Regions from separate parts of the Homo sapiens genome. Here region 2 is linked to region 1. The links are contacts of gene promoters, found by promoter capture Hi-C in human tissues and cell types (Jung and others, 2019). All regions are on one chromosome and are shown on one strand. The core of a region is centred on a gene start or on the middle of the fragment in contact, and the rest is flanking DNA. Distances in the headings are between cores, read along the strand shown.

Region 1 (6,473 bases), core at 1-2,500:
ACATTGCACATGATCGTCTTACTCATCTGGAGGTAGCCTCTCCTCTTTCTCACCTGGGAGGGTTTATTGCGTAGTATTTATAATTATAGACTTTGTGTTTAGGCAGTCCTGAATTTAAATAGTAGCTATGCTATTACATTGGTATGGCCTTGTTCAACTTGTTTAACCTCTTTAATCTCAGTATCTAGATTTGAAATATGTGAATGATCCTATCTACTGCACAGGGCAATGAAATTGAAATAGAATAGTATCTCTGCTTGTGTCATAATCCCTGCTATGGGATAAGTGTTACCATAGGGTGACCATTACTAAAACCCAGCTTAGAATTTGAAAAGCTACCAAAAAAAAAAAAAAAAAAAACCTCCTGGGAAAACTAAAGAGATGTACTGTCATTTATGCATTTTACTTGTAGGAGGTTCTGTGTAGCACTAACTCGGGGTCCTTTTATTGCTATTCAGCAAAGTACCAGTCCAGAAACAGGATAAAAAGAGTAGATTAGAATGGTATAAGATGCTACTAGAAGTGTGTGCCCTGATAGCAAGAAGCAAAGGCTGACACCTTTGCAATATGGAAAAAAAGAATAAAAGAATAAAAGGTACAGACAAAATGGAAATAATCAAGGGACTGGGGTGAACTTAAAAGGCCTTAATTACTTCTCCACTCATAGGATGAACCAAAGTGTTCAAGGAAAAGTTAAATTGTGTTTGAAGCTCAAAGAGATTAAGTCATTTGCCCAAGTTTACTAAATTTGTGTGAGGAGACCCCAGGTCTACTGACATCCAGTTTAGCATTCTTTCCAGTACAATTTGCTACTTCATCACTATGCTCTTCTAGTATGAATCACCACCATGTATAAATATAATACATAATGTAAATAATACACAGATACAAACGTTAACATGTTAAGTACCTCATTTCCCAGAAATCCCAACTTACAATATTCATGAATGCTTCTGGGTCCACAGCTTTAGTTGGCATATGTACTGAATTCACATTTCTCTGGAACATATACGCCACCAGAATCAGAAGCCACATTTCCATTCTGTGTGAGACAATCCACTGTCTTGACAAGGTTTCCAACATGGTCCAACATCTGCATTTATTTTTTCCTGCCAATGTAACAACTAATTCTAAAGTAAGAAGAATTTGTGGGTTTAAAAACTCTTCACATATTTTCCTGCTGCAATTCCCTCTTCCAATTCTGAAGCAAATTAGGCAAGCTTAGTTGGTAGGGAAAGAACACAAAGTAGGCTGGAAACATTGCCTAGGATGTCCCAATACTATCTGACTCCTCCCATTCCTCCCTCACACAACTTGTAATCCCTAATCCTTCAACTTCCAGGTGTGTAGAACTTTCTTTGATGTGACCTGGAATTTTGTGCATTTGATACAGCCTATTAAAACCCCTGTACTTTATCACCAGGTAATAAGGAGTGTAGGGAACCTCTTTCCTTCCACTCCTAGATTTTATCTTTCTTTGATAGATAGCAAAAGATGGAGTCTACAGAAAGCACTGAAAGTTTCTATAGTCATATTCTGGGTCTTCAATGATCACTGTTTTTTGGTTAAAGATAAGTGTTGTGATAAGTGCTTTTATTTAAAATATCTAAAATTTTATGGACATTTTCTACTTTTAGGGATGGGTGAGAACATTGATTAGAAGAAAATGAATCTTCCATGTTTAGCCCATTTCGTCTAGTTCAATTAAATAGATATACACAAAATTTTTATTTTAAGTTGTAATCACTAGTTAATCACTGGGATATGACTAGATGGATTATCTAGTAAATAAATCATCAGCTATTGTGTATTTTAGTTTTTTATATATATTTATTATATTTTAAGTTCTAGGGTACATGTGCACAACGTGCAGGTTTGTTATGTAAGTATATAAGTGCCATGTTGGTGTGCTGCACCCATTAACTTGTCATTTACATTAGGTATATCTCCTAATGCTATCCCTCCCCACTTCCCCCACCCCACGACAGACCCCGGTGTGTGATATTCCCCTTCCTGTGTCCAAGTGTTCTCATTGTTCAATTCCCACCTATGAGTGAGAACATGCAGTGTTTGGCTTTTTGTCCTTGTGATAGTCTGCTGAGAATGATGGTTTCCAGCTTCATCCATGTCCCTACAAAGGACATGAATGCTTCCTTTTTTATGGCTGCATAGTATTCCATGGTGTATAGGTGCCACATTTTCTTAATCCAGTCTATCATTGTTGGACACTTGAGTTGGTTCCAAGTCTTTGCTATTGTGAACAGTGCTGCAATAAACATACATGTGCATGTGTCTTTATAGCAGCACGATTTATATTCCTTTGGGTATATACCCAGTAATGGGATGGCTGGGTCAAATGGTATTTCTAGTTCTAGATCCCTGAGGAATCGCCACACTGTCTTCCACAATGGTTGAACTAGTTTACAGTCCCACCAACAGTGTAAGTGTTCCTATTTCTCCACATCCTCTCCAGCACCTGTTGTTTCCTGACTTTTTAATGATCCCCATTCTAACTGGTGTGAGATGATATCTCATTGTGGTTTTGATTTGCATTTCTCTGATGGCCAGTGATGATGAGCATTTTTTCATGTGTCTGTTGGCTGCATAAGTGTCTTCTTTTGAGAAGTGTCTGTTCATATCCTTCGCCCACTTTTTGATGGGGTTGTTTAAGGGATAATATCCAGAATCTACAAAGCTATTGTTTAAAATAATGGGTTGCAGCCTAGTTATTTTCATGAACTAAATGTCTCAGTTCAACTGAATGTGAGGCAAATGTGAACAATCCCTTAGCATACTAATGATTGAGCAGGTCAGGAGGGTTGATTTATTTGTCGTTTTAAGTAAAGAATGTGTTAAAAGTTAAAAAAATATTACTTAAAGTGAAATATTTCTCTATTACATCAATTCTTCAGGGTTGAGCTAACAGCAGCCACACCAATATGCAGACTTTTGGAATGTGGTGGGTGAAGGAGCCAGATGCTGAAACCAGAAAGATAAGTCTGTCAGAACATATCTTCCCACATGACTCAGCCTCCTCCACTTTGGGCTGGTTGCATGGGTGTGAAGAGGTAAGTCTGCATCCTTATCTGGACCAGTGTGAATGTCACTAACACAGCTAATCTGATGCCAGCTAGAGGAGCCATTTGACCTAATTAGAAGAGCAGAGAAAACACTTATCCAACACTCTGCAGAGCCCTGTGTCTTCAGCACCCCATGAGTTCTCCCTCAAGGTAGGCAAGATGAGATTTCAGAAAAGAATATGGGCTCCCATCACTGACATTTTAGGATTTGTAAATGTTATATAGCCAGAAAAAAAGATATCATTCAGCTTTCATTTTCAGAAATGTGAAGACACATTAAATGACTTGCCCCACATTGCCTAGCTAGACTGTGGCAAGGCCAGAACTGAGATTCAGATATTTTAATTTGCTGTTTAGCATTATGACTACATGGGAAAATATATAACACTTCGATGTCCTCTTCTCCATCAAAGATGAAGCCTAACCTACTAACAGGAAGCAATTACATCAATCTCTGTGAACTGTCTTTTTAAAAAGTTATCTTCTGGATTTAAAATTCAGAATAATTCCCAATGATGTCATTATGAGTTTGACAGATACCATCTGTCAAATACCATCTGTCAGATACCATATTACTTTGCTGTAATATGTTCAGGTAAGATCAACTCCCGCATTAGATTAATATGCTTGTGAATACTGTAGAGACTTTTTTAGGAGAGAGTTTATGGCAATAAACTGATTGGTTCAATCCCCCACCCATTCCTTTTTATTTTATTCCTTTTATTTTTTAGCTTTCTGCAGCTGCAGCCTTGGGTACTGAGTACATTGCAGAGAAAATATAATTAAATTTGGCTCTCAAATTCCTGGGGAACTTTATAAGGTCATAACTGTCATTTTGGAAGCAGGCAAAGTCACTTCCCAAGTCAGCTCAAAGAGCGACATTTTGAGCAAATATTAAATAAGTGCAGTTCTTCCCCACTGCAGAATTTTACAACACCCTTACCACCTTAGCAATCCCCAGCCCATGGAGAGCATCAGAAACATGATAAAAGAGATGGGAGGGGGCCGGGCGTGGTGGCTCACACCTGTAATCCCAGCACTTTGGGAGGCTGAGGCAGGTGGATCATGAGGTCAGGAGTTTGAGACCAGCCTGGCCAACATGGTGAAACCCTGTCTCTACTAAAAATACAAAAATTAGCCAGGAGTGGTGGAGGTCGCCTGTAATCCCAGCTATTTGGGAGGCTGAGGCAGGAGAATCGCTTGAAACCAGAAGGCGGAGGTTGCAATGAGCCAAGGTCCTGCCACTACACTCCAGCCTGGGCAACAAGAGTGAAACTCTATCTCAGAAAAAAAAAAAAAAAGAGAGAGAGAGAGATGGGAGTCCAAGTGTGCCAGTGTGTCTGCCCACTTCAAGGTGCTGATCTTGAGAGATTTCTCTTTAGACGCTTCTATTCAGGAACTCTGTGACCTTAGAAAATGGATTTTTGTCATCTGAGTACATAAAGAAGTAGGATCTGAAGTATCTGGATTTCTTAAAATGAAGAAAATTGATCTCCCTTAATGTACACTATCTATAAATTAATATTAAAATACAGAAAAGCAACAGGTCAAGTAGAATAAACATTAAGAAAAAGCTTTCTAATAAAAAAGTGAATGAAAATCAACCTGTGGCCCTACACATTCATATACCATGTGTAAAAACTGTAAAAACCAAAACAGCTAAAAAACCAACCAAACCAATAAAATGGTACAAAATAAAAACAATAACACAAGAATAAGGAAAAAAAAAAGGCTTGAAGCTGTAAAAACAAAAACATTCCCTAACCTGAAGGAAAGAGGTGGGAGCAAAGAGTACGTGTCAAAATCAGCCTCAGAAACTTCCACCCTTTATACACGGTACCCAGTAAAGCGCACCTCAAATTGGCTTAGTAAGTAAGTCCCTTCTACATTTCATTTGAACCATGAGGTGTAAAACCATAACATTTACCTTCATCTTTTGAATATGAGGTCAAACTCTCAAGGATTAACTCTATTTGGACATGAGAAATAATTCCTCTCAAAAATTAATGAAATAGTAAAAAAAAAAAATTAGAGCTTCTACAAATCCTGGTTCAAGTGAGGATTCAAGAATCAGAATGTACTATTAATGTGACCCAATTTATGCCCACAGTTTGTGAGTATCCCCGGTAATATGTATGCACTGAAATATACTTTTCCTCACATTTATTTGGCTTTAGAATACATAAAAATCAAAATTCCAACAATTGTTTCTAAACATTTTTAAGTTACATAATGTTTTGAGATGCTGACAAAAACAAGACTGTCTCCTCAGAAATATGTACATTTGCATCTCCATGCTAAATTTCATAATTTTTCAAGGGACGCATGGTCCTCTTGCATTTCTTCTGCAGAGCCGTTGGGCTTTGATATGGTTTGGCTGTGTCCTCACCCAAATCTCATCTTGCATTGTAGCTCCCACAATTCCCACGTGTCATTGGACGAACCTGGTGGGAGGTAACTGAATCATGGGAGCAGGTCTTTCCTCTGCTGTTCTCGTGATAGTGAGTAAGTCTCATGAGATCTGATGGTTTTAAAAACGGAAGTTTCCGTGCGTAAGCTCTTTTCTCTTGTCTGCCGCCATTCAAGACAGCCTTTGAGGCCTCCCAAGCCACGGGGAGCTCTAAGTCCAGTAAACCTCTGTCTTTTGTAAATTGCCCATTCTTGGGTATGTGTTTATCAGCAGCGTGAAAATGGACTAATACAGTAAATTGGCACCAGTAGAGTGGGGCGCTGCTGAAAAGATACCTGAAAATGTGGAAGCAACTTTGGAACCGGGTAACAGGCAGGGGTTGGAATAGTTTGGAGGGCTCAGAAGACAGGAAAATGTGGGAAATTTTGGAACTTCCTAGAGACTTGTTGAATGGCTTTGATCAAAAGGCTAATAGTGATATGGACAATGAAATCCAGGCTGAGGTGGTCTCAGATGGAGATGAGGAACTTGTTGGAAACTGGACTCTTGCTATGTTTTAGCAAAGAAACTGGCGGCAGAATGTTTTCTGTTTGAGTTACAGGTTAGAGGGCTTTCAAGATAGTGCTGTTCTACCCCAGTGTTGGACTGAGTTACTGAGTTTTATTAAAACTATTCTTTCAGGTTTTGAAAACTACACCGTTTAGTGTGGGGCTGTGCTATGGAAGCAATCTGAAAGTCAGAGTCAATGCTTTTGTGAGAACCAGTCTATAATAATGACCAAAACTGTTGTACTGAGTCAAGCTTATGTTCCACTCCTTCTCTTAATATGAGTTATCTCATAAGATACCCCGAGGTCTTCAGGCAAATGGTCTTCAGAGTGTTTGGATTACTTGCCCTCCCAGTTTGTCAGACATGCCTGCATGTGCTCTTAGACTCTAATTGGTATCTTAGCTACATCAATCAACATGTAATTGTTCTTCATA
Region 2 (7,062 bases), core at 3,899-6,398, 420 kb after region 1:
CTCAACTACTTAGTACATCTGCAATAGTCACATTTAAATGTAATAGTTAATTTTTGCCTGTTTATCAGACATTAGGTTCTTTTCCTTAACAAACGTCAACTCAATAGCATAGATTTCATAAGCGAAAAGCTCAAATTGACAGCTGAATTGGGAACTGTTCTCCATCAACTCCTGGTACATAATAAACTATTTTATTAATCTCTTTACTAAAAATGAACTTCCAGGCCATTTCTGACTACTCCACACTAGAGCTATAGTTGTTCTAAGTGCTTTCTATATAGTAATTAATCTAATATTGAAATCAACCCTATGATATAGTCAGTACTATAATTTTCAATTTATAGTGTAGAGAAATTGAAGTTCACAGCCTTTCCCAAGGTCATACACTGGTAAGGGAATTAAGCATGATTTAATCTCATCTTCCTGGCTGCAAAGCCTAGGTTGTGTGGCTTTGAGGAATTACTTAGCCTCTCTGAGCCTAAGTTTTTTCATGTGTAAAATGGGAATTATAACTACAGTACTATCTATATCATTGTTAACCATCTAAATAATGGTTAATTCATTTACCAGTGTTTGACCTTGAGAAAGTCTCTGAACTTAAACAGCTTTGCACATAGTAAGCACTCAACAAACATGAACTTATACAATTATTTTGAGAATTATCTTTAGTAGACACCTTTGACAATAAAGGACATAAGAGAATAGTCTATGTCAGGGATTGGCAACATTTTTCTGTTAAGACCCAAAAAGTAAATATGTTAGACTTTTTAGGCCAAGAGTCAAAATCAAGGATATTATGTGGGCAATTACATGACAAGATAGAAAACAAATTTCTATAAATCTTTATTGACAAAAATGGAAAATTTGATAATAATAGTTAAGTATAATTTTCTATAATATAGGTCTACTGATGAGAAAAATTGAATTCTTTTATTGTGGGAGAGTGATAACATTTCACTTAATTGGGGTTCAAAGTTAGTGCTTCCTATCATCAGAATCAATTGCCCATGCCCATCTGTTAATGCTGATTCATAATGAGGTTTTACATATTTTGTCTTTGAAAATATCTTTTCACACAAATAGATACTGTCAAATACTAATATCTGTTGATGAACATATGATTTTAATTTAGCACAATCATTACTTAAAAAGCACTTAAAGAATTCTATTAGATTCTTCTCTTGGTATTTGCCTTTTAGCATGTCATTATATTAATTACTTCCAATTGAAGGGTAGGTGGAAGCTCCTCAATTGCACAGTTAAATGGATTTTGAAATAAGGAAATTTCATTTGCACTTGCATCAAAGTCCAAAAAAATCCACTGCTGGAATTGTAGTTTGAACTCAAAAGATATATCTGCTGCACGTTTGTGTGGAAATGGAGGTCTTGCTTCTTGTTTTAACTTTTGACAGCACAGGAAATGTAGAAAGCAGTTTGACATTACATGTGATTCAAACAACATTAGTTGTCACTGAAATGACTTTACCACAGTATAAATTTCACTTGTAAGTGCTGTTTTGCCTAACAATTTTAGGTTGAATTTTTAAAGAAACATTAACAGTCTGTAGGAAAGCTCATTTCCAAAACTATTCAGTATTCAATTATAGGTGATAGTGGTGCATCTCATTCATAAAAATTTCAATCTTGGCCCTGAGCTCAAACAAATCATAATGAAATGTTACTACTACTTAGCAATTGTTTCTGCCATGTGATAGAGAAGTAGAATATTCAGATTCTATTCTAACAAAACTTTACAGGACTAATGATGGTTAAGTCCGCAAAAGTAAATGAATATCACCATTGACACTACTGTTTCAATTACACATGATAGATTTAAAGATGTTCCACAAAGCACCGCTGATGAATAATATGAGTCACTATAGGTTTAAGATGCCTTACATTTTGAAAAGCTATATGAATTTGTACAATTAAACCCTTTTTCTGCTTTAAAATAAATATTTTACCACCGTCTATTGGAACACATCTTAGAAGATTCCCCTTCAGGTTGTGCAGAATTTGTGTTCTCTCAGTTTTTTTGGAAATGTTGTCACCTATAGTTTTACAATGCAGGCTATTCATTAGGCTAATTCTTTAATCACTGTAGACTCAGAATTGACTCCTCAAATAAATAATAACTGAGTGGTATCAGCTATATCTGTCAACTCATCAAGATGCAAGGAAAACCACTCAAAATTACTTGCCTTGTCTTTTAATCAACAATTGCCATTGCTTCCAGTATTCTCAACTATTCAAGCAACTGTTCTCACCAAAAAGCTAATAGTCTTAAACAGGTTTGTTCTATCTGGATAATTTATTCAACTGCTATAATCAAACACAATTTAATTTATTCATCCTCAGTAAATAGCTTTCCTTGCTTGGGAAACAAATGAGCTACTCAGAAAATTATTTTTGATGCAGTGTTATTTGCACTTTTTATTTTTGTGAAAAAATTCTACTGTGATGATATATTCAATTTAATTTTTTATTTCTATGACTATTGGTTACTGGTGAGTTGAGAATAATGTGATGAGTGTTTAACCTAGAAATGCCTGTATATATTGTATTTTTTTAGCATAGCCAAAGTGTCATGCACAATAGACACAATGCTTTGCCATCTAATTTGATAACAGTCATCTACACTCCACTGTACCTGTCATTTGAAGTCCACTTTTCTCTTCTTTTACTGTTTTGAGATGATAGGTATGAAATGGCAGTTTAAAAAATAAGATGTCACAGTACAACGTGGCATGTAAAACACAATCAAATGATAACTATGTCAGTATGATTTGTAGTGTACCCAGCAGCACTGCAAAGCAATAAAAGCAACATATACAGTCAATATGTCACAACTACTCTACTCTGCCATCGTAGTGGGAAAGTGATCATAGATAATAGATATATATATGAAAGAAAGAGCATGGCTGGTTCCAATAAAACTTTATTTATGGATACTGAAATTTGAACTTCATATAATTTGTATGTACCAAAAAATTGTTATTTTTGTATTTTTCAATCACTTAAAAATTTAAAGACCATTATATCAGCTGGGGGGATATAAAAAAACCAGACAGGGGTCAGATTTGGCCCATGGATGGTAGTTTACCAACCCCTGTTCTAGGTAACTAAGTATAAAGTAGATTTCAGAAAACATTGATAAATATTTTTCTAAAATTTAGAAACTTTTAAGTGATATATAATTTGTACTTTAAAACTGTCTCTGTTTGATATATCATCTTAATATTTGTTTAATCACAGAAACCTAGTGTAATCTATAATTCAAAGGGACGGTCATCTACAATTAGAGGGAAAATTCAAGGAGAATCAACTGAAAGCCTATTATCACTAATAAAAGAATTTTTTAAAAGCTGAATATAAAAAACAAAAAATACTTTTAATATGTATATATATATAAATACACATACAAATATATACATAATTCAGTAGTTTTACTATACTTCAGCAATGGCCAATTTGAAAATATTGTATTTTTAAAAAACTATCCACAAGAATAACGAAAACAACAGACTACCTAGGAATAAGCCTAAAATAATTGTACGTGAGTAGATGAAGAAAACTTCTAAAACTTTGCTAAAGGATCTACAAAATGACCTGGATATATGGGGAAATATACCATGTTAATATACAAGAAGACATAATAAATATGTCAGTTTGCTACACATTAATTTATTAAGTCAAAGCAAGGCTGTGACTTAAGTGCCAAGCAAGGCACTTGGCGAGTTTATTCTGAAATTTATCTGAAAGACGAAATTCTTAAAATCTGCAAAGATATTTCTGGGGGAAGAAAAATTAGACTATACTATGCGTTCTACTGGATATCAGAACATATCAAAAAGCTATATAAATTAAAATAAAATGGCACTTTTGTAGTAATGATCAAACAGTTTAATGGTTCAGAATAGACAGTCTAGAAATAGACATATATTTATTTAAGAATTTAGTTCATAAAGGAGGCATTTCAAATCAATGGAAAAAGAATGGATGATTTAAATAAATGGTACAGAGACAACTGACTATCCATCTAAAAAGAGTTAGATTTTCACTGTCCCATACCATGTAAAATAATAAATTCAAGATAGAGTCAGAGACTGATCTTATGATGAATAAGAAAAGGTATAAAAGTGCTAGAAGAAAGTATAGGATATTTTTATATTCTTCAAATGGGAAAGCCTTTTTCTAAAAAAGACACAAAACCGGCCGGGCACAGTGGCTCACGCCTGTAATCCCAGCACTTCGGGAGGCCGAGGCTGGCGGATCACGAGGTCAGGAGATCGAGACCATCCTGGCTAACACAGTGAAACCCCGTCTCTACTAAAAAATACAAAAAAAAAAAAAATTAGCTGGGCATGGTGGCGGGCGCCTGTGGTCCCAGCTATTTGGGAGGCTGAGGCAGGAAAACAGCATGAACCCGGGAGGCAGAGCTTGCAGTGAGCGGAGATCACGCCACTGCACTCCAGCCTGGGTGACAGAGAGAGACTCCGTCGTCTCAAAAAAAAAAAAAAAAAAAAAAAAAAAGATACAAAACCCCAAGACTAAAAAATGAAAACAATGAACGGATACATAAAACTCAAATTTCTCTATTACCTAGCAAGCAACTGGTTGAATACATTTGCAATATAGGTAACAAAAGTAGGATTAATATGCAGAAAATATGAGCAAGACAAATAACCCAAGAGTCAAACAGGCAAAATTTGTGAATAGACAGTACACAGAAGAAATGCAAATGATCAATAAGCATGAAAAGATAATCAACCTCCTTCGTTGTTGCAATTTTTTATTGCAATGTGACAAGCCACTCCAAACTTTAGTGACATAAAACAATCATTATATTATGCCAAGAACTCTGTGGGTCAGAATTTTGGACAGGTTACAATGCAGACGTTTGTCTCTGTGCCTTGGTGTCTGGGGTCTCGGCTGGAAAGACTCAAAAGCTGGGAGGTGACTGGACAGCGGGGGGCTGATACCTTCAGGAGCCATCTTCACTCACAAGTCTGTTGGTTGATGCTGTTGTAAGCTGGAGCTGTCTGCCAGAAACCTATGAAGCCTCTGTAAATGTCCTGAGATTCTTCACAACATGATGGCTGGGTTCCAAGATTGAGTCAGAACCAGCCATAAGTTGTATCATCTTTTATGACTTAGCTCAAAAGTCACTGAGTGTCAGTTCTGCCTTAACCACAGACCCTCTTAGTTTCAAGGGAAGGGGATATAGACCCTACCTCTTGATAGAAAAGTTGTCAAAGTCATATTTAAGAAGAGAATCAGGGATGGGAGATATTGTTGCAACCATTTTTGGAAAATCTATCTGGCAAATTAGTTATCAGGAAAAGGCATATTAAATACCTAGAAACCACTTACTTACCACGTATCAGACTGATAATTCTTCCCAGGTTCATTCATTCATTGGGAAAAAGAGCCAGAGGAGTGACAGAAAAGAAAGAAAAAAAAAATCATTTGAAATTTTAGCACTATTTTTCCCTATTAAATAAAAAACACCTTGGTCTGGGGGGAATTTTTTTTGTTCAAAATATTATTAAACTGGCCATTTTACTAGAATGTGAAAAAAGTATTTATTTTGTACACTCTGCTTAAATAGCAATCCATTTTCACATTTAAGTAAACCAAAGCAAAGAAATTCCCTGTTATTAATTTAATTCACTCTTCAACATTAAAACATATATGGTCAAGTGCCACACAACAACATTCCAGTTAATGACACTAGTGGTCCTATAAGATTGTAATGGAGCTGAAAAATTCCTATGACCTCGTGATGTTGTAGCCATCATAATGCCAGAGCAAAATGCATTGCTCATATGTTTGTGGTGATGCTGCTGTAAATAAACCTATTGCTTTGCCAGTCATATAAAAGTATAGCACATACAAATATATACAGTACATAATACTTTATAGTGGTAGTAAATGACTATGTTACTGGTTTATGTATTTATCTATACTATTGTAGGGACCCAGGGAAAACTTCTCCTTCACCCTCTGAAGGTTTGATGGAAATCAACTGACAAAACAGCAGATTAATAAAAAAGGCAAATACAAATTTATTATAATTTTACATGACTTGGGAGCCTTTAGAATGAAGACACAAAGATGAAGGAAACAGTCCATTTTTATACTTTGGTTCAACAAAGTATGTATAGCATGTGCAAATATGATTGGACAAAAAGGGTATGATCTAATGCTAATAGACTGAGTGGGAGAACCCAGTAAGGCCTGTCTGTTTAGATTCTTCCTGGCCTTTCTGTGCAGCGTTCCTTACTTCTGGGTAAGGGGCAGGAGCCTCTCTAGAATGGGGGGTCTTATGACCTACAGTCAAACAAGGTAGGTGAGATAATTTTTTATGGCCAATTTTTATACAGAAAGGCAGGGGTGAGGTGGGAGTTAAAGTAATATTTTAAAATTTTATTTTAAGTTAAAGTAATATTTTTAAGCTGGCTTTGGGGAAAAGGGTTCTGGTTTCTATGACGTGCCTTGGGAAGAAGGGATTCTAGTTTCAATGGCCAGCCTTAAGAGAGAATGAGTGGCCAGAAACAGGATGGCAAAAGATCAGGGAGAACCTTTTGCTTCTGAGGCCTTCCTTTTGAGGTACTGTTTTCTGAGCTCCAATACCATATTTTTTATCATTATTTTAGAGTGTACTTCTTAGACTTATTTTTTTTTTAGTTAGCTGTAAAATGGCCTCAGGCAGTTCCTTCAGTAAGTATTCCTAAAGAAGACATTGTTATAGGAGATAAACAGCTTCATGTGTGTTAATGCTCCTTGAAGACCTTCTAGTGGGACAGTACGGGGAGGTGGAAGACAGTGATATTGACGACCCTGACCCTGTGTATACCTAAGCTAATCTGTGTGTTTATGTCTTAGTTTTTAATGATAAAGCTTAAAAAGTAAAAAAAAAATTAAAAATACAAATTTATAAAATAAGGATATAAAGAAAATATTTTCGTACAGCTATGCAATGTGTGTTTTAAGCTAAGTGTTATTACAAAAGAGAAAGTTTAAAAAAAAGTTTACAAAGTACAAATGTTAAGGAAGCTA

The links. Contacts are between HindIII fragments. The study calls those that stand out against the background at their distance.
Region 2: a fragment that was not itself captured here is called in contact with the fragment with the promoter of LIPM in region 1 in 1 of the 25 tissues and cell types used here (lymphoblastoid cells).

Annotation. Positions count from the first base shown.
Region 1 is chr10:88,797,507-88,803,979 of GRCh38, reverse strand. LIPM (lipase family member M) reads right to left here and starts at 1,250. Exons shown (of 9, transcript NM_001128215.1): 1 at 937-1,250. The coding sequence starts at 1,083. The HindIII fragment of the contact is 4,906 bases long and covers 568-5,473 here.
Region 2 is chr10:88,377,835-88,384,896 of GRCh38, reverse strand. All of the region lies in intron 4 of RNLS (renalase, FAD dependent amine oxidase), which reads left to right. LOC101929727 (a long non-coding RNA gene) reads right to left here. Exons shown (of 3, transcript XR_001747537.3): 3 at 4,776-7,062. Among named protein-coding and RNA genes, the nearest start is that of RNLS, 200 kb to the left of the region's middle. The HindIII fragment of the contact is 4,906 bases long and covers 2,696-7,062 here.